Linked DNA regions of Homo sapiens: regions 2, 3 and 4 are each linked to region 1. The links are contacts of gene promoters, found by promoter capture Hi-C in blood cells and fetal thymus (Javierre and others, 2016). All regions are on one chromosome and are shown on one strand. The core of a region is centred on a gene start or on the middle of the fragment in contact, and the rest is flanking DNA. Distances in the headings are between cores, read along the strand shown.

What was found. The method cuts DNA at HindIII sites, captures the fragments that hold promoters and counts their contacts. A CHiCAGO score of 5 or more calls a contact.
Region 2: a contact is called between a fragment that was not itself captured here and the fragment with the promoter of OR6V1 in region 1, in 1 of 17 cell types (neutrophils). The highest score is 5.1, in neutrophils.
Region 3: a contact is called between the fragment with the promoter of TRPV6 here and the fragment with the promoter of OR6V1 in region 1, in 5 of 17 cell types (erythroblasts, neutrophils, monocytes and 2 more). The highest score is 9.0, in erythroblasts.
Region 4: a fragment that was not itself captured here is called in contact with the fragment with the promoter of OR6V1 in region 1 in 8 of 17 cell types (total B cells, naive B cells, M2 macrophages and 5 more); the score reaches 12.1 in total B cells.

Annotation. Positions count from the first base shown.
Region 1 is chr7:143,049,507-143,054,794 of GRCh38, reverse strand. OR6V1 (olfactory receptor family 6 subfamily V member 1) reads right to left here and starts at 2,454. Exons shown (of 1, transcript NM_001001667.1): 1 at 1,513-2,454. The coding sequence starts at 2,454. The coding sequence ends at 1,513. RefSeq lists an enhancer at 5,060-5,288. The HindIII fragment of the contact is 11,126 bases long and covers 1-5,288 here.
Region 2 is chr7:142,815,830-142,821,117 of GRCh38, reverse strand. LOC105375541 (a long non-coding RNA gene) reads right to left here. Exons shown (of 2, transcript XR_001745392.2): 1 at 4,993-5,288; 2 at 3,682-4,362. Among named protein-coding and RNA genes, the nearest start is that of EPHB6, 37 kb to the left of the region's middle. The HindIII fragment of the contact is 1,192 bases long and covers 2,714-3,905 here.
Region 3 is chr7:142,883,473-142,888,760 of GRCh38, reverse strand. It overlaps TRPV6 (transient receptor potential cation channel subfamily V member 6), which reads left to right and starts at 3,016. Exons shown (of 15, transcript NM_018646.6): 1 at 3,016-3,372. The coding sequence starts at 3,125. The HindIII fragment of the contact is 18,692 bases long and covers 562-5,288 here.
Region 4 is chr7:143,200,506-143,205,793 of GRCh38, reverse strand. LOC124901764 (a long non-coding RNA gene) reads left to right here. Exons shown (of 2, transcript XR_007060567.1): 1 at 1-2,618; 2 at 3,367-3,738. Among named protein-coding and RNA genes, the nearest start is that of TAS2R40, 19 kb to the left of the region's middle. The HindIII fragment of the contact is 871 bases long and covers 2,785-3,655 here.

The sequences.
Region 1 (5,288 bases), core at 1,205-3,704:
ATTTCCACATAGTGGATTTTTTAAATGCTTGACATTTGTGATAAATTAGTAGTTTTATTGTTTTCAAGTAAGTGTAGCTACGAATAAACTCCTGGTTGTAGTTTATATATCACAAATTGGGATATGGAGTTTGGTAAATTAAAGTGTACTTACAGAAACAGTGTGTCAAAACAACTTAAATTGGGGCTACTTTAGAAAATTCTGCATGGGCAAAAGCTAAGGGAACACCATGATCCTGAGGTCAAAGTAACTGGAAGATTTTAAAAATTTCAGGCTATAGTTGGAGGAGGGAGGACAGTGGAGCTGATGTTTAACTCCAAAGGCAGCATGGGACATAATAGATTTTCAAGAATTTTATACCCACACGTATGTGAATGTAATATAATGTTCATATTTTATGTAATGTACAATATAATATGTATGTGTGTAAAATAGGATATATAATCACTGAATAAGTGAACTTACTAGGTTTATTACAATCCCTTGCCTTTAGGCAAATGAATGTTTCTAATCATACAGGAGCAAAGTTTATTTTGTCTTTCTAAAACTCTGAATATTTCCTCTCTGGAAACCACATAATTCCTCACTAGCGGAGATTTATCTTGTTTTAATTTCTCTCTGTTTCATCTTTCTCTGATGCAAAGGTACCTGATGAATTGCACTCTCACAGTGTCCACCTTATAGTCAATGTGCTACTCAGGTGTCATCTTGTCAGGAAGCCGTCGCTGAGCCTCCTCCTGGTCTCAGTGTTGCTCCCCTGTGTGCTCATAATACCGTCTGTGAATCCACTGTTGCACGTTCCCCACTGTGCTGGAAACAGCTATTTATCACTTTTTCCTTCCTTAGGCCAAGAGCTTTGTCAGGTTAAGAACCATTTATGCCTTTTTTACCTTTCTACCCTCTACCTGTTACAGTGCCTGACACACACAGCCTACTCAATGTTGAAGAAATGAATGAATAAATGGATGAATAATTATACAAGGACCCAGTCCTCCTCCCAACACTCACACACACATTGAAAAACAATCAGTTTGTTTTTGGTAAGTTTTGCTTCTTCTCTTGATCCCATGTAGCCCAAGCACTTATGGTGCATACACTCAGCAGCAGTGCATACTGTGATAGAGAAGCACACCCGGAACATGCACACGCATACACACATATGTACACACATACACACCCATGCACACATACTGGGATTGGACACTACCTCTTGATCATAGAGCACTTCTTGGCTGCTCTTCCTTAAATGCAAAGCACATGCACTTCCCTTTACTGAAAGCTCTGGGCTACTCTCAGAGTTCTTACGGCTGCCAGGGGATGTAGGGAACTCTTCCATGGTGGTCCATAAGAGCTTTGGGCCAGACAGTGCAGCACTCAGGGCTCACTGTAGTTATTGCTCAGAGGGAAAAAAACTAAAGAAACTCAGCAGTGTTCTTCCCACTTGCTGGAGGTCTCCCTCCCCACAGAACTGCTCAATGGAGGCAGGCCAGGTTCCCCTGGGCCCTGGGCTCATCATTGTGCCTTGCAAAGGCCTTTCAGCCTCTGCATCTGCCCCTGTAGCACTGTTTTAACTGTCTGATTGCAGAAGGTAAGGATAAAGGGATTGAGAAAGGGGGTGAGAACTGAAGTCACCAAGGCCACGACCTTCCTGACTTGCACAGAGTGAGCTTTGCCAGGCCTGACATACAGAAAGATGGTACTACTGTAGCCGATGAAGACCAGTGTGAGGTGAGACCCGCAAGTGGAGAAAGCCTTCTGGCAGCTGCTGGCAGAGGGGATCCGCAGCACAGTGGTCACTATGTAGCCATAGGAGATGAGGGTCACCAGGAAGGAGCTGAGGACAAAGGTCAAGGCCATCAGAAAGTCCCAGAATTCCAACAGGCGAGTGTCAGAGCATGACAACTGCAGGAGAGGTTCATTGTCACAGAAGAAGTGGTTGATGACGTCGCCATGGCAGTAATCAAGATGAGCTCGGGAGAGGACAGTGGGTACCATGGCTAGGAAAGGAGCTGCCCAGGCAGCCCCAGCCAGCTGGACACACATAGCCCGGCTCATCAGAGTGCCATAGCGCAGTGGGTGGCAGATGGCCACAAAGCGATCAAGGGCCATGTCTGTCAGGATGAGGAAGGAGGTGGACCCCAGGGAAAAGTGGAAGTAGAACTGGACCATGCAGCCAGTGAAGGTAATGACTTTGTGGGGGACCAACAGGTCTGAGAGCATCCTGGGCACTGCAGTCATGGTTACCAAGATCTCCAGCAGGGAAAAATTGCCCAGGAAGAAGTACATGGGTGTATGTAGGTGGGTGTCAGCTATGACCATAACTATGATGATGGTGTTTCCCATGAAGGCGAGAAGATAAAGCATGAGGAAGGGGCCATACAGAAGGGCCTGCAGCTCACCAAAGGAGGAGAAGCCCAAGAGGACAAATTCGGAGGGCTGGCTCAGATTTGCCATGATCCACAGTATGGGGCCCTGCATGCAAGAGAAACAAAAGACAGACGGAGAGGCAGAAACAGAGAGATAGAGACAGAGAACCATTGAACTTGAAACAGAAGAAACAGGGACAGAGACAGAGAATAGAGAGAGAAAGGCAAGTAGCCAGCGAGTGATAAACAGAAAAGCAGAAAGAAACGGCAATAAAGAAAGATAACAAAACAGGAATGGGAGAGTCAAGGAGAAACAGAGTGAGGGTATGAGAGAAGTGAAAGACATAGAAAGCCATTATTAAGAAGAGAGAAGGCTGGGGATGGTGGTTCATGCCTGTAATCCCAGCACTTTGGGAGGCCGAGGCAGGGGGAACACTTGAGGTCAGGAGTTCAAGACCAGCCTGGCCAACATGGTGAAACCCTGTCTCTACTAAAAATACAAAAATAAGCCAGGTGCAGGCAACTGTAATCTCAGCTACCTGCAAAACTGAGGCATGAGAATCGCTTGAACCTGGGAGGTGGAGGTTGCAGTGAGCCGAAATCGTGCCACTGCACTCCAGCCTGGGTGACAGAGTGAGACTCCATCTCAAAAAAGAAAAAAAAAAAGGGGGGGAAGAAAGAAAAACAGAGGAAAAGATTAAGGAAGACCACATGGCAACAGACATTGACATTTAGGGAGAAAACAAGAAGGAAACAACAGAGGACCAGAGAAAGAACAGAAAAAATTCAAATAGAGAAATACAGGAAGGGGAGGAACACAGAAAAAGAGAGGGAGAGAGAGCATTAGTGCATGTGACCCAGAAGCCCCCAAATGTAGGCTAATCCGTCTATGTCACACCCAGAGGTTGTGCCCCAAGACCCTTTTTAAAGGGTCCCTGCAAACCTTTCTGAGCTGCCTCTCTGAGGACCCTCGCTTGTGCACATTTCTCCGGCTATGATCATGAAATTAGTGAAAGTCAGAGTTTTGAGTCCAGAAATTAACTTCCTTTAGAGGAGACCTCTGCTTCGTGTTTGCAAAGATGGAGAGCAGAAAGGGTGCAGCAGGTCAGGGAGCGAGCCTGGAAATCCAAGTGGCTGCTCTCCCAGGACACACACAGTCATCAGGCTTCCCAACGGCATAATCTGTCTACCCAAGGGTGCTGCTTTGCCGTCTCCATTGCACTTCCCCTCCCGCCGTGGTGCAAAGTGTAAGCTATGGAGTTGGCTTGCCTGTGTTTGAATTCTGGCTCTAGACTTGCTTGTCACGGGCCGTAAATCTGCTCTTCTTTGTTACTTACTCTCTCTGAGCCCGTTTATTCAGCTGTAAAATAATGGTATTACTGGTACTTAGCCTCTATGGTGATTATAAAATTAAATAAGTAAACTACTTAGTGCAGTGACTAGCACATACTAGCCAACAAATCGTTGTTGTTATTGTTATCACTGTTCTTATTGTTAGACCGTCAATAGAACTCAAATTTTTTTTGCCCATCATCTCTCTACACTTCTTCTCATTGCCAGCATGTGTGTGTGTGAAGATCTTTACAGCTTTACACTGTTTCTTGGAATTTCAGTTCACTAAAAGGGTACTTTAAAACATTTCAAACACAAACAAAGTATTTACAACACAAACTGTCAGGAGTGGAAGGAGTGAAGCTGTGTGTAGATATACTCTGGCCCTTTCTCCAGCCCCATAAATGCTTCATTTGGGGTTGTGTCCTGGCCACACAGCAATGACATTCTAATTTTAAAAAGCCTTGCACCCGGCCAGGCGCGGTAGCTCACGCTTGTAATCCCAGCTGTTTGGCAGGCTGAGGTGGGCGGATCACGAGGTCAGGAGTTCAAGACCAGCCTGGCCAACACAGTGAAACCCCGTCTCTACTAAAAATACAAAAATTAGCTGGGCATGGTGGCGGGCACTTGTAATCCCAGCTACTTGGGAGGCTGAGGTAGGAGAATCACTTGAACCTGGGATGTGGGATTGCAGTGAGCTGAGATCATGCCAATACACTCCAGCCTGGATGACAAAGCTAGACTCCATCTCAAAAACAATAAAAAATAAATAAATAAATAAATAAATAAATAAATAAATAAATAAAGCCTTGCACCCATGCCACTGGCAAGCCTTAACGGTAGGTCTAAAATCCTAAAATCTACCCCAGCACTGACTAAATTCAAACCCAGTCCTTATGTTTGTGTTGCATGAGAACCTGACTGACATACAGACTTCCCCCCCTCACCTTAGCCTCCAAGCCTGTTGTCTTCTTTGTAAGCTGCTCTCACTTAGGCATTCATACCTGGAGACACCTGCCTACTGGCCTCACTCTATAACATGAATGACATCAGAGATGCAGTCTCTTTCCCTTGGGTTGTGTCTTGCGGCTGGAAAGGGTGGAAAGGGGCTTTGTGCACAGCTTGGAAGAGGTGGCACTGCTGGGTGAGCTAAAACTCTGCCAGTCCTTATGCTGATTTTCTAATTCAGCACCTACCCTGTGTCACTACAAAGCCAGGGGCAGCAGCATTGATGTGGGGCTGGGAGATGGGAAATAAGTCCCTCAGGAGACCAGAGGGGAAAGGTGCTGATTCTGTCCATTCTCTCTCAAGGATGAGTGTTTTCAGCTCTTTCTCTCATCCACATCTCCAAGTCCTTCGTGTCTTGATGATGTTTACAGTTCAGCTTATGCTGGATGGGAAACTTAGACTCCAGCAGAGTGTTTTCTGTGGGAATGACAGGAAGCCAAGGAGCCCTCTGGGGACTTCTGAGGCACTGACGTTGCTCCTTAGAATAATGAGATGTCCTCTGTTTTGAGGAAGTAACATTTGAGAAAAAGATCTGAATAAAGAAATGGATAAAGACCCAGATACACCCAAGCAGCTGACGGC
Region 2 (5,288 bases), core at 2,060-4,559, 230 kb after region 1:
CCAGGCTTTTCCCTTTTTTCCTTTTTATCCCTCACAGGGAGCTGGCTTACCAATTCCATCTGGACTTTTTTTCATTTTGTCTGAAAGACATCCTTTAACATTTCTTATAGTGTGTGTGTCTCCTGGCAAAGAATTATTTTAGTTTTTTCATGTCTGAGAAGTTTATTGTGCCAATGTTTTTGAAAGATATTTTCACTGGATATAGAGTACTAGGTTAAGAGGATTTTTTTTACTTTAAATAATTTAAAGATGTTTCTCCACACTCTTTTGCCTGAATTGTTTCTAGTGAGATGACTGCAGTCATTCTTAACTGTGTTCATTTGTACATAGTGTGTCTTTTATTCTCTGGCTGCTTTTCAAGATTTTTCTTTATTAGTTTTAAGCAATCCAATGATACTATATCTTGTTAAAGTGTTCTTCATGTTACTTGTGCTTGGAGTTCATGAAACTTCTTCAATCTGTGGCTTTTCCTTTTCATTAAATTTAAAACTGCTTCAGCTATTAGTTATTCAATTTCTTTTTTCTGCATTAGTCCTCCAGTTTTATAGGACTCTCAATATTAGGCTGCTTAATGCTGTTCTACAGCTCACTGATGCTCTGCTCACTTTTTTTAAGTCAGTTTCTTTCTGTTTTTATCCTAGGTGAATTCTATTACCTTATCTTTAAGTTTGACTTGAGATACCTAATCTGCTGTTAATCCCATCCAGTATATTATAAAATCACATTCATTGTATTTTGCATCGGAAGAAGTTTTATTTCAGTCTTTTTTAAATCTTCCACGTCTCTTCTTAACATATGTACACTCTCTTCTATCCTGCCGAACATATTGAATATATATTTAATAGCCTTGTCTGCTAACTCCATCATGTATATCATTTCTGGATCTGTTTCTATTGAGTGTTTTTCTCCTCCTTATGACCCATATTTTTCTTTTTCTTTGCATATATGACTTTTTAAAATTGGATATCAGATATTTGAATTTTACGTTTCTAGCTACTGGAGTATTTGTATCCCTTAAATAAATTTGGGACTTTATTTTGTGATGCAGATAGATTACATAGAAACAATTTGATATTTCTGAGTCTTGTTTTGGAGCTTTGTAAGTTGTATCTAGGACAGCCTTTAGTGTACAGCAAATTTGCTTCCCGCGACTGGGGTGATCCGCTTCTGAGAATTCTCCTCAATGCCCTCTGTGTTAGGAGGTCTCCCACTCTGGTTGATGGAAGCACCATCTTTTCCCGGCCCCGTGTGGACTTTGAGATGGTTCTGCTTGATCCATCGAGTGGTCTCTCCCTAGCCTCAGGTTGTTTTCTTGTACTCACTGGTCAGAGCAGTTGAAGAGTCACTGGGAGTCCAATGCACATTCCAGAGCACTTCCCACCCACCGCTTTCTCCTCCCTGGGTCTCTTCCCTGGAATTTTAGCCATTTTGGCCTCCTCAAACCCTGAATGCAAGTCTCCTTAACTCAGAGAGACTGCCAGGCGCTGTTTGGGCTTCTCCTCCCTATAATACTGCCTGAAAAAGATCTCCAGGCTATAAACTGAGGCCATCACAGGGTTCACTTTATTCATTTCACTTCTTTCAGGGATCACGGTCTTGAGCCATCTGTTGTCCAGAGTTTCATATATTTCATGCATTTTAATTGTTTCAGGTTTGAGGGTAAATTCAGCCTCTGTTACCCCATCATAGAATTCCCTCAGACACAGATGTGTTAAGCTTTAGGAAATTCTACTGTAACCTATCTTCATGTATTCTCTTCCTCTCCCTTTAGGTTCATCTTCTTACTGTTCTTCACCGATGTCCTGTACTTTCAGCCTCTGTACCTTTGGTCATTTCTGTACCATTCATCCTTTCTTGCCTTTTAATGTCATTTTTATCAGTCTAAAACCCTATGACTTCTCAAGGACCATCTCAGAGTCTGTCTCTTATGTGAAAGTTAAACTGAGCCTCATACCTGAAAGTAATCTCTTTCATAAACAAACTTTTTTGAGCTTATCCTGCTTGGGTTTTGCTAAGCTTCCTGGATCTGTAGGTGGATATTATTTATCATGTATGAAACATTTTGGCCACTATTTTAAAAATAATTGTTTTCTGCCACCACTTTCTCTCCTCTATGTTGAAGACTCCAATGATATGTGTGCTAGGTGGCTTGATATTGTTTGGGAGTTCCCTGAGACCTCTTCCAGTTTTTGTAGTTGTTTAGCTTTATTTTCCTCTCTCTTGTTTTGACAGTTTCTGTTGTCCTGATTTCCTGTTCATAGACATTTCTCCTATAGTGTCTACTCCAACTTAAGCTTATCTAGCAAAATTTTCATTTCAGATATTTTTCAGATCTAGAAGTTCTATTTAGCTTTTTTATAGTTTCTGTTTCATTCTTCATTATGTTGTGTTTCACTATAAATCCTTGAACATATTTAATAATAGCCATTTTAGTATATTAGCCATTTATAAGTCCCATTATTTTAATTTACCATCTCTGCCATTTCTGGGTTGATTTCAATTGCCTAATATTACTACTTAGCATAGACACATTTTCCAGCTTTTAAGTATATCCCATAATTTCTGACTGGATGCTCAACATTATGAATGTTACTTTTTTATTATCTGAATTTTGTTTTCTTCTCTCAAAGAGTGTTGAGCTTTATTCTAGTGGGCAGTTGACTTGCTTGCAGGTCAACTTGTCTGCTTTTCCTTTCAAGGGCTCTTTTAAGCTTTGTTAGGGTTAATGGACGGTAGACTTATTCTATGCCATTTGAGTCCTACTCTAAGTTATGGGCTTCCTGGGATACCTGTTCAATGTTCCAGGTATTCAACAAAGCTATTCTGATGGCTCAGAGCTGTATCTCTCTCAGCCTCGACCAAGATCTAGTAATTATTCATACTGTAGTTCACCAGCAGTTGTTAATTCTCCAGTACTTATTCTTTGCCTGCCCCTGTGGAGTTTCACCCAATGGATGCCAGCTTAGTATTTACCCAAAGACTCAATGAGACCTCATGAAAATTGCGGGGCTCTTTCCGTGCATGGCCTCCTCTTCTCTGAGCTGTGTCCTCAGCTCAGTAAGAATTTCAGGGTGCCATGCTCTGCTTGGGTCCCTCTTGTTTGTACAGTAACCCAGGAAATTCTGGGTAGAAAACGGAAATGATCACAGCACGCACCTCATTTGTCTCCTTTCACTTATGGATCACAGTTTTGTGCCATCTCTTGTCCAATATTAGAAAACAATTATCTCACGTATATTGCCCAGTTTTCTAGGTGTTTATTATTGGAGGGTATAATGGATTGAATTATACCCACCATCCCCCCAGAAAAAGATATGTTGACATCCCAACCCTCAGTACCTCAGAATGTGACTCTGTTTGAAAATAGGGTCATTGCAAGTGTGACTAGTTAAGATGAGGTCATACTGGAGCACTGTGGACTCCTAATATGACTGATGTACTTGTAAGAAGACAGCCGTGGGAAGACAGAAACACACAGGGAAAATGCCATGTAATGCCAAAGGCAGAGTTTAAAGTTATGTAGCTGCAAGTTAAGGAATGTCAAAATTTGCCAGCAAATCAACAGAAGCTAGGAATAGGCAAGGAAGAATTTCCTTCCAGGTTTCAGAGGAAGCATAGCTCTGTTGATACCTTGATTTTAGACTTCTAGGCTCCAGAACCATGAGACAATAAATTCTGTTGTTTTAAGTCACCCAGTTTGTGGTACTTTATTACAGCAGCTCAAGGAGAATTACAAAGTGGATGGATTGAGTACAAGTTCCTTCATCGTAAGTGGAAGCAGAAGTTCCTAACTCTTTTAGTATTTGTCATCTGAACTACTTTTCTATCTTTTACCTCCTCCAATAGATAAGTTATTAGAAGGCAAATATTGCTTCTTGATTTTTTGTTTTCCGTCTATCTAAGCTTGAATTTTATGTGCACGTAAGGTAGATGTGAAATTCATGGGCATCAAATATGGGTGGGTAAAATATAATTTTGTTTTCTATAATTAAAATTATTCTATATCTAGATCCTTGTTGCATTGGGGTACACATGATTAATTCAGGGGTTTCTCAGACAATTCATGCTTGTCTCCCTTTCCTTTTCTCCCCGGGTAGTGTCTAAATTCCAGGGTGCTTATAAAAGCGCTTGTCAAAGCATTGTGGGGAAGGTACTTGGTCTTTGGTCATCATTTAACTTTCCTTCATGACTCTCATTTGCACCATCATCAGCACCTGTCCCCACTGATATCTGCTGATCCTCGGTGTGTCTGTCTGTCTGTCCTTCAGGTTGTTTTGATCCACGGCGGGTACACTGTGCCTTACACATTTCAAACACGATGTCTCTTCAGGCTTGATGGCTTCTCTCAGTTAATCTGTTTCCCTGTGAATGAGAAAATGGCTATTCCTGATCTATCCTGAGATCTTTGGGGATTCTTGGAGACTACCTCAGGTCCCTCTGTTAAGACACATTCTAGAGCCATGTATGTTTTCCACTGCTGCTCTAATAAATTACTACAGACTTAGTGGCTTAAAACAACACAAACTTATTATCTTACAGTTCTGTAACTCTGAAGTCTGACACAGGTTTCACCGAGTTAAAATCAAGCTGTCAGCTAGGCTGCATTCTTCCCTGAGGGCTCTAGAAGAGAACCCATTTCCTTACCTTTCCTAGCTTCTAGAGGCCACCTTCATTCCTTAGCTCATGCCCCCTTCTACCTCCAGGGCCAGCAGCATGGCATCTCTCTTGCCTGCTTCCATGTCCACATCTCTTTCTTTGACTCTCTTCTGCTTCCTTCTTCCATGTTGAAGATGCTTGTGATTGTATGGGGCACACCTGATTAATTCTGACTACTCTCCCTGTTCTAAGGGCATCCAATTAGAAACCTTAATTCCATCTTCAACCTTAATTCCCCTTTGCCATGTAATCTAACACATGCACAGATTCTGGGGATTAGAATGTGGACATCCTTGGGAGCCATTATTCTGCTGACCACAAGTCATTTCTACTTACCAGTCTCTAGCCAGTATGACATGTAGGGACCCAGGACCTTGTTCGTCTCATTCTGGAAATAAGCACAATTTTCCTCTGCCGTCAAAACTTTTGAATTTCCATTTCTTCTCTCTCCACCTCTCTCTCATCCCTTTCCTTGATCAGGATGTGGATAAGAAGAGGTAAGTCACAATTCAGGGCATTCAGGAGCATCTAATTGGCTGACTCTCCCTTCTTTCCATTAGCCCAGGTAATTTTTAACTCTTCTGTAGAGGAACAAATAGGCTTTGCAAGTATCTTCCATTCCTATTATATAG
Region 3 (5,288 bases), core at 1,767-4,266, 170 kb after region 1:
CAGGAGGTGCTGCCCTGGGGTGGAGTGGCACAGAGGGGGCTGTGCTAGTCTCAAGGGAGAAGGAGGTCCACGGCATCCTTCCTGTCCCCTGGAAACAAGCAATATGGGATGCAGGTTTAAGATGTGAGACTGAGGCTGGACGCGGTGGCTCACACCTGTAATCCCAGCACTTTGGGAGGCCGAGGCAGGCGGACCACAAGGTCAGGAGATCGAGACCATCCTGGCTAACATGGTGAAACCCCGTCTCTACTAAAAATACAAAAAATTAGCTGGGCATGGTGGCAGGCGCCTGTAGTCCCAGCTACCCGGGAGGCTGAGGCAGGAGAATGGCGTGAACCCAGGAGGCAGAGCTTGCAGTGAGCCGAGATCACGCCACTGCACTCTAGCCCGGATGACAGAGCAAGACTCCATCTCAAAAAAAAAAAAAAATGCGAGACTGAAAGTGATTGGTGGGGGTGCTTTCAGGAGCTTCTGGGGGTAGTGCCACCTACCCTAGGGCCACCTTCCCTTACTGATACGATGTTAGGTCCAAAGACCAAGAGAACATTGCAGCCAGAAGCTTATATCCTGCAAACTTGTCCTCCCCTCCCATCTGGACACCCCAATTTTGAGTCTGTTGGCTGATCCATGCACAACACCAGGTGGAGGAGGCTGAGGAAGAGGAAGAGCATTGGAAAACAACTTTGTCCTCCTCCTATCCTCCTCCCTCCCTAAGTCTCCCTCCCAAAGCCTCCCTCCCCCAGCCTCTCTCCCCAGCGTAACGAAGGCCTCATTGCTTTCTCTCCTTCCCCACCAGACACTAAACTGGGGTCTTTGAAGCTAAATAGGTCTTTGAAGCGACAAACCACTGGCTTAATGGGCACAAAGGTCTTGGGGTTCAAGGTTTGGGTTCTAGCACCTTCCCCCAACCCAGCCCGAACCCACTGACCCAGGTGGGTGGGGACGAAGCTAATCCAATTGAACTGTTTGCTCAGGACTGCGTGGCCTGGCCTCTGCCCAGCGGCAGGAACACAAATAGCTTTCCACTTGAAGGGGTCCTTCTCTCCCCTGCCCTACCTCAGCATCCACCTCCCTCCACACACCGACTCCCCCCACACACAGCACATATGACACACACCCCATGACATACATACACACACAACACACACCATACATACACACATAGTAAACCCACCATACACTACACAAATCATGTATACACCACACACACACACACACATCATGTACACGCACACATACCTTAAAGGTACCATATACATCACCCACTACACACCATACACACAACACACATGCAACAATCTTTCCACAATACGTATATACACAACACACATGTCACACATACCATCACAGACACCACATCCACACGCTCTACAGGCCATACCTACACATATCACATATATCATACACACGTAGACACATACCAAACACACCACAGGCACATCATATACATACAGCATACCACACACAAAACACCCCACCGATGCACATCATGAACACACGCATAAACACCACACACAAATGCACATGGGCACACACGCCATACACACGCCACACACACACTCCCCTGGCTGGGTCTTCCAACTCTGAGTCAGAGAAAGTTAGGACAAAACAGACTCTGAAGCTAGGAAGTGATCCACACACCTGTGACTCTGAACACCCAGACACCTGCCCCTAGGCTATTGGCACCTGGCTGGCACCAGGAGGTTGGATAAGCCCGGGCTTCTGCCCCTTTCCAGTGGAAAAGTTGAACTAAATGACCTTTCCGACAGCTTCCAGCAAGCTCATGATGGAGCTCTTTGTTGTGGGAAGACGATGGGCCATGCTTAATGCCATCATTCTTCTGTATGACTGTGCGAGTCACTTAACCTCTCTGAAGCTCTGTTGGCCAGTTAGAATGAGGAGGTGTGCTAGGGAGAAAGAAGTGGGCTTGGAATGAGGGATGGGTGTGAATCTTGCCTCTGCCACCTCTATGGCCTTGGGAGAGTTCCTTTACCATGGTGAGCTTTGGTTTCTCCCATCAATACAATGTAGATAATAATACCTGCCTTGCAGGTTTGTTACGAGTTTACCTGGGAACGCTCAGTTAAAAGGCCCAGCACACAGTAGCAGCTGAATGTCACCTCCACGGGAAGGCTGGCAGATAGAATACTTGCAAAACGTGGGGTATATTTATACTAAAAAATTCTTTGTTGTTTATCTAAAATTCAAATTTGACCACGTGTCCTGTATTTTATCGGGCACCCACCCCATGCACGGGGCATTGTGGACAGTCTGTGGAGCTCCTGAGCAGGGGGTCTGCCCAGAGCTAGATTTTGTGCCCTGGCTGGTGAGCGAAGAATGCATTTTACATCTTTGGGGGTGGTTAGAAAACAACCACCAAAACAAAACCAAAGAATAACGTACATTAGAGAGTGTACATGGCTTGCAAAACCTAACATCTTTACATTTCCTATCAGCCCTTCCAGAAAAAGTTTGCTGACCCAAAGGTGATGGGGACTGAGAGGAAAGTCTGGGAGAACTGAGTATCTTCGCAATTTATATACCTATTTCAGGCCTGGCAAGAATGAAACTGGAAGAGTCCAGAAAATGGAATTCTCCAGGACATAAGCAGGGGGAGGCAGAGAGTGAGGCAGGTGGTCGGCAGAAGAGGCACTGTGGGAAAGTGGGGCGCTCCCTCCTGGGAGTCCTCAACATTGGGAATGGGCCTGCCCTGACTCCTCCCCTCCTTTCTCACTGCCTAGAGTCTCTCAGGGTAGGTCACTGGGTGTTCTGACGTCCAAGGGAGGCCTCGCCAGTCTTTCTGAAGGCCTCCCTGGTTGTGACTGGCCTGGGGGCAGGGAGAGAGCCCTGGGTGGAGAAAGAATTGGAGTTGGCACAAGTCCCCCTTGGTAGGCAGGTCTGTGGCTGGCCTGTGTCTTTAAATCTCAGGTAATTTGGGAGGAGGGAGGGCGTGTCCGTGCAGCTTTGGCTCCTCCTGCTCACTCCCAGCAGGAGCTCCAGACAGGCCAGCCCTGCAGAGTCCTGGCTGGCTCTGCCAAGTGTAACAAACTCACAGCCCTCTCCAAACTGGCTGGGGCTGCTGGGAGACTCCCAAGGAACTCGTCAGGAAGGCAGGAGACAGGAGACGGGACCTCTACAGGGAGACGGTGGGCCGGCCCTTGGGGGGGCTGATGTGGCCCCAAGGCTGAGTCCCGTCAGGGTCTGGCCTCGGCCTCAGGCCCCCAAGGAGCCGGCCCTACACCCCATGGGTTTGTCACTGCCCAAGGAGAAAGGGCTAATTCTCTGCCTATGGAGCAAGTTCTGCAGATGGTTCCAGAGACGGGAGTCCTGGGCCCAGAGCCGAGATGAGCAGAACCTGCTGCAGCAGAAGAGGTAAGGCCCCCTTGGTCTGCTCCCTTCCCCACCTCCCCAGGCCTGCACCTCTACCCCTCACCCCTCCCTCACCTCCCGTCTTTGTTTGGCACCTTTGGCTGGACAGATGGTGCTCCCAGGCCCGGACTGGCTCCTTGGGAGCATTCTGTCTTAAGAGCCTCAGCCTGTAGGGCTGGTGAAAGAGGATGGGGTTGAGATGGGCACAGGTGTTCACTATCTTAAGATCTAATTCGATTCTGCAAGCCTCTTGTGAGTACTTCTCTAAGGGCCAGGCGTCTTGCTGGGGCTTGTAAGGATAGAGCATCACAGCCCCTCCACCCAAGAGGGGACGGCAGGTGAGGACAATGCCTTCTGTATCTCCACTGCTTGCCTCTAGAACAGTCTCTCTGGCAGGAACACATAGTATACATATGTTCGCATGGAGGAATGAGTGAACGATTGAATGAATGAAGCAGAGAGAACCGCGGACACCAGGAACCAGAAAATAAGACAAAATGTGAAAAAAGTGACCATTCCTATGTATCTGTCTCATCAGACACTGACCAAGGCCTTACTATTTGCCCAGCACTGGGGGGATATGAAGACCTACAACGCTCAAACCCAACCTTGAGGTGTATTTCTCTCTCAGTGCGGGTGGGGACTGAGGGGAAGCGGGTCAAAATAACAGATGTTCCGAGGACCTGTGCTCTTCCGCATTCAGGTGGTGGAAATCGAGACTCTAGCGTTTAAGCCCTAAGGACATTCACTGGTGGCTTCCAGCCCCTGAAAACTTCCTAAACCCGTGTCCTGCTTTCTTCACCATGACAGCTTGGAGTACAGAGCAGGAGAGGAGCAGGGAATCGGAACTCAGGGCTATCCCTGCATGTGGTCTCTTCTTCAAGGTCTCTAATAGAGTTCTCTACCCAGTTGGTGGCATGCTAGAAGGAAGTCCTGCCTGTTGGGGCTTTCCCTGGGTCACGAAGGAGGCAGATGTCTGGTCATAGAGGAAAGCCTGAAGTCTTTGTGCCTTAGGGTTTTTCTCTGACCCCAAGAGTAGGAGCCTGCTTTAGCCTGACCGGGGAGGCTGCCTGGAGGCCCCTGTGTTTTCTTTTGCTGAAGGATTCTGGGTTGGGGATGGTCTCTTTCTGTGAATTATGGCTTCCCATCTCTCCAGCCGCCCACCTCTCCCCCAAGGCCTGGGAGAGTGGGGACTGGAGCACATGTTTGGCTGATGACATCTTGGGGCAACAGAATGGCATTGTTGTTAGAGAGTAGGTCGTCCTCACTGGCTTCACTCATCCTCTTCCCACTCTTAGGACCCCAGGGCCAGGGGATCCAGGCACAGAGTGCAAAAAGGCCTGGGGGATTGGAAGGGGTGGTGGAGATTCCCTGTGTGCGATATCAGGGGAGAGCAGAGGGGAGGCCCTGCGCTGAGTGGCTGAGAATAGGCTGCTTCCGCATGTCCTGTCTGCCCTCACTTTTCCTCAGATCATATGGGGGCTGCCTCTGCAGACTTTGGCTAGAAAGGCTTGATGTCACCCTTGGGAGGGATCCCCCCTCCCTGCCCTGATCTCCTTACTGGCCTCCGCACTTTCTTGGCCTTCTTCTTGCTGGATATCAGGTGTCCAGAGCAATGACTCTTCTTTGGGTGGGCACTTCCCAGAAGGATGCTGAAATTGCCTGCAAGGGGAGTTTCCTAATCTGTGCCGTCAACCAAAGAGAAGGCATGGGGGCATTGAGATAAACATGGGATGACTAAGTAAATAGGAACAATATGGACAAGTGAGGGGTGAGCTAATGGAAGAAAGGAGCACACAATGATTGAGAACCCAGTGCTGTACTAGGTACTACCACCTGCCTTATCTCCGTCATCCCGGTAACAATAATGGAAGGTGGGTCCTGTTATCCCCCTATGAATGGGGCAGGCCCAGAACCCT
Region 4 (5,288 bases), core at 1,971-4,470, 150 kb before region 1:
GGGTGGATCTCTACATCGTGCGATTCTCAGGAGGGATTGTGGTTGCTCTCATTTAGGGAGTGCCCTTTGTGCTGGGCTGTGGCTTGCAAATGTGTGCATTATAAGGTGCCCGGAACTTGGATGGGTATAGTGAATATTAAATGTAAAGAGTCTAGGTATATACTGGGCCTTGATCAATATTTATGGAATTCAAAATGTTTAAATACTTAACTATTTGCTTTTCTTTGTTATTATTAGTATTATTATTAGTAGTAGTATTACCACGCCTGGCTAATTTTTGTATTTTCAGTAGAGATGGGGTTTCACCATGTTGGCCAGGCTGGTCTCGAACTCCTGACCTCGTGATCCACCTGCTTCAGCCTCCAAAAGTGCTGGGATTACAGGCTTGAGCCACCATGCCCCGCCTCTTTGTTCTTAATTCTGTTTTCATTTGTTCTCTAGCCAAGACCCCAAGTCTATAATGATCAAGAGGGTTGTTTTATTTTTGACAAGTGGAAACCCACATGTTTCTGAAAAGTGGAGTGGTGGTGGTGGTGGTGGTGGTAGCATAATCTGGAAGACCCCTAAAGAAGGCAGTGCTACCTGCCATATTTGACTTGGGGGTCAGAGCGAGAGTCTGAGTTGGAGAGTTGGGAAGCTAGAAAAATGAAGGACTAAAGTAAGAGATATTCCTTATTTCTCCTTTTCCTTTTCCACATATCTTGAGAAAGAGAAAGGTTTTTAGTTCAGCAGAAAATGGGAGATGCTGGGGCAGAGATAAAAATGCTCCCCAAACATGGCAGGGACTTCCTTGTATTTCTCGTTCTCCTTGTAGTTAGGTTGAGCTAAAGGAGATGCTACTAATGAAATTTGAAATCTTAGGGTCAGACATGTGGGAATGCACTGCCTACCCTTCCATCTTGGCAGTGACACGGGCTCATTCCCCCCAGTTTCCAGAGCTGTGTCCTTTTCATTCCTCTTTCCAAATCCACCTCCACTCAAGCTTTCAATCTGTGCCTGGGCTCTGGTTTGAATGAGCCACTGATATATTTGCAGCCACCGGGGATCTGGAGTGCAGATGCAAATGGCAGTGTTCCCTGGTAAGTGTTGGTGACAATTGGATCTTTCTCTGATTTGCATTCCCAAGGCCTGCAGGTTTTCAGAAAATCACATCTTATAGGCAGTTCTGGGGAGGGGGGAGGTTTATTTTCAATGTCAGCTACAAATGCCGGCCCATGATAATTCTTAGAATGAAAGACCTCTCATTTGCAAAGGAGAGGATAGTTAGAGCCAGAACAATTCACTTAGCAAAAATTTGGGCCCAAAAATATATATATAGGAGAAGGGATTGTTGGTGGGTAGAGAGGCCTGGAGATCAAGAGCAAGAGATGAGATAAACACAAGTTTGGAAGCCATTGGCTTGTGAGGGGACCTGAGCACTTAGAATAGAGGAGACCCCTCAGGGAGAGCTTGTATGGAGAGAGAGAAAGGTGCATCCTGACCCCATCCTGGGCATTTCTCTTTGAAACTCAGCCTTGTTATAATTCATTTCTAATTCTGATATCAGCAGTGAGGGTTCATCTAATCTATTCTCATCACTTCTTGAGCCTCTCAGCTCTCACTGGTCCTGGCTCTTGCCTGGAGATGATTTTACTCAAAATTCTAGTCCAGGATTTAGAATTGGTCTAAGTACAGATGTGCATCAGGAGGCTATTTCAAAATCCCAGATGAGCTCATACATAAAGTAAGGATTAATTTTTTATTTTGTGAACCAATTGTGTAAAAAAAAAAAAAAACAACAATGCACATTAGGAAAGTAATTCATTTAATTTCCATGACCCAGCCCCTCCTGCCTACAAGCCCCCCTCCCCCATCCCATGCAATCCACCTCATAGGTAAAAACATATTCTGGGCAAACTGACTCATTTCATGTCACATTTATCCCACTCAAGTTTGTCCCTCCTGCTTTGAGCCTGGATTCCACGTAAAGGTGGAAGGTGATTTGGGCTGGTCTCCAGGCAGTCACCACCTGCAACCTATTTTCTTCTCATCACGACACCTACGTTCAGTGTCACCTTTTCTTCTCCCTTGGGCTGCCCCTTTCTTGCTCACTCCCATGTTCCAATGCCAGCAGCTCTGTCTTTGTGCTCAGCCATGCTTGTTGTTCAGCAGCATTCCTCATTAGAATCCCATTATTTGATGGTCAGAGTAGGGTCTCCATGGTGATACAGGCACAAGTGTAGCCAGTATTCTGCCACCGCATCTTACCTACTTGGCAGGCAAGCTAGAGTTGGCCTAAATTCTGCTTTTATCATTTATGTGTTTGTTCTTATGCTTTTAGGAAAAAAAAATCCTGAAATAATGGTGAAGGACAGCAAGTATTTGCCTAGAGTGCATGCTAAGAAGTCTCCATAGATGTTTTTCTTTAAGTATCCTGACCGCTTAACATATTGATGAAGACCTCTTATTTCCAGGTCAACAATCAGCTGTTACCAACTTAAGCTTTCTAAACATTTTCTGTGAAACAAATTTTTGCCAGTAAGAAAAGGAAATTGGGAGCTGCCACTGCTTAATTAATTTGAAGCTTTGATAAGCTTTGCCAGAGAGTCGCATAATAGAATTAGCAAGTTTCTTAACAGGTGAGAAAGCACATGAGCATAAACAAAAATAGGATAAGACTATCATCAATGGGGTTTATGCACCAGCTTAAAAAGCCAGTTTGGGGGACTTTTATGACTCTGAATTAAGATTTGTGCAATATAAGATTGTCCAGGATAAAATATTTTGGGCACCAAATATTAAGCTTCTGAAATAGACCCAGAGGTTCTTGTATGATAAAAAAAAAGTATGTATAAGGTTTTGATTTGATTTTTTAAATAATGTGTTCACTACTTCCCTTTCTTCTGAGACTCCATAGAGAAAAAAATATCATAACACTAAAGAGAAGGGAATGAGGATGGCCAAGAGCAGACTGGAGATTTCATCCTATTTCTTGGTTGTGGACAATCAGAAAAAGCATATTGTAGATGAAGTGGAGTAAAGGATGCTCAGAATATGCATGTCATGGGCCTCTGGGAATGTGGTGGCTGATCAGGCTGCTAGAAGCCTGGAGGGCCTTGGCTATCGGATTCCTAGCTTTGGATAGCAGGAGCGAGACATTGTGCAAAAACCAGAGGCATCATTAAAATTCTGTCTGCCATATAGCTGCATCATTGATGCTTTCCAGTGCCTTCCTTGCCACTGCATACAGAACCATCGAAAACCTTCATATTGAGAATTCTTTTCTAGAAAAATTGAATACATTTCCAAGGAAGAACTAGGGCTTCAAGTGCAGATATTTGCACATAGATTAAACCCTTTTTTTATTATGGCATTTTGAATTTCCAGGCTAATGTCAGATTCCACACCCACATACCTAAAAGAGGAGCCAGCCTGTCAAGGTGGCCCAGTTACAAAAGAGAGCTTCCAATCAGCCTTTCCATTCAGGAGACCGTTCTACTGGAGAATGATACCTGCTTACCCAAAACAGCCTTTCCTTTTCCTTCATGAATTACTAATCAAGGATGATCAGAAATAGGAACAAAATCCACAGCCTGAAAGAGAAAGACCAAGCTAAACACCAAGAGTGAATTACCCCTGAAGAAATAAAGATCAAAGAAGACAAAAAATTTAAGCTTGTGTCCTTAGAGGAGGCACAGAAGATATTGCCTCCATAAAATAAGAGAAGGATGCTATTAAAAATAAACAATTAAGAAATGAGAAGGTGAAAATGTAAATTAGTAAGTCATTATGGAAAACAGTATGGAAATTCCTCAACAGTTAAAAATAGAACTAGCCATATGATCCAGCAACCCCACTACTGAGTATATGTCCAAAGGAAATCACTGAGAGGTATCTGAACTCTCAATGTTTATTGCAGCACTGTTTACAAGAGTCAAGATATGGGATCAACCTATGTGTTCACCAATGGGTGAATAGAGAAAGAAAATGTGTTTTATATATACACAGTGGAATACTATTTAGACATAAAAAATAACTGGAATACGGCCTGCACAGTGGCTCACACCTGTAATCCCAGCACTTTGGGCGGCCAAGGCGGGCAGATTGCCTGAGGTCAGGAGTTCGAGACCAGCCTGGCCAACATGGTGAAACCCTGTCTCTACTAAAAATACAAAAATTAGCCCGGCGTAGTGGTGCATGCCTGTGATCCCAGCTACTTGGGAGGCTGAGGTAGGAGAATTGCTTGAACCCAGGAGGTAGAGGTTACAGTGAGCCGAGATTGTGCCACTGCACTCCAGCCTGGGCAACAGTGTGAGACTCTATCTCAAAAAAAAAAAAAATTGTAGTACTATCATTTGTGGCAACATGGGTAAACCTAGAGAACATTATTTTAAGTGAAATAATCCAGGCACAAAAAGACAAATACTGCATGATCTTACCAATATGTGGAATCTTAAAAAGTTGATCTCATAGAAGTAGAGAGTAGGATAGTGGTTATCAGAGGCTGGGGAAGATAGTGAGATTAGGGGGCAAATGGGGAGAGATTTGTCAATGACTACAAAGTTACAGTTAGATAGGAGGAATTAGTTCTGGTGTTCTATTGCACAGTAGGGTGACTATGTTAGTTAACAATGTTGTGTATTTCAAAATAGTTAGAAAGGTGGGGCACAGTGGCTCAAGCCTGTAATCCCAGCACTTTGGGAGGCCAAGGAGGGTGGATCACCTGAGGTCAGTTCAAGACCAGTCTGACCAACGTGGTGAAACCCCATCTCTACTAAAAAAATACAAAAGTTAGCCAGGCGTGGTGATGCATGCCTGTAATCCCAGCTACCTGGGAGGCTGAGGCAAGAGAATTACTTGAACCCGGGAGGCAGAGGTTGCAGTGAGCCAAGATTTCACCATTGCACTACAGCCTGTGCAATAGACAAACCAACAAACAGACAAACAAACAAAACAAACATCAAAATAGGAAAATTTTGAATGTTCTCACTGTAAAGAAATGATAATTATATGAGGAGATAGATATATTAAATATCCTGATTTGATGATTACACAATTTATACATGTATTAAAATATCACATTATACCTCATAAATATGAATAATTGTTAAATGCCAATTAAAAACAAAGTAAAAAAGACACAACAGGCTTTCAGATATTTAAAGTATGATTTAAAATTACATCCAGGCAATATATGATTATAGTAAAAACAAGATGAAGTCAAGGTAATCTCTCAGAATTCAGAGCAAAACTCAATCATGAAAAAGATAAAGGAAAAGATGAGAGACACAGTTGTTTAACCCAGGAGG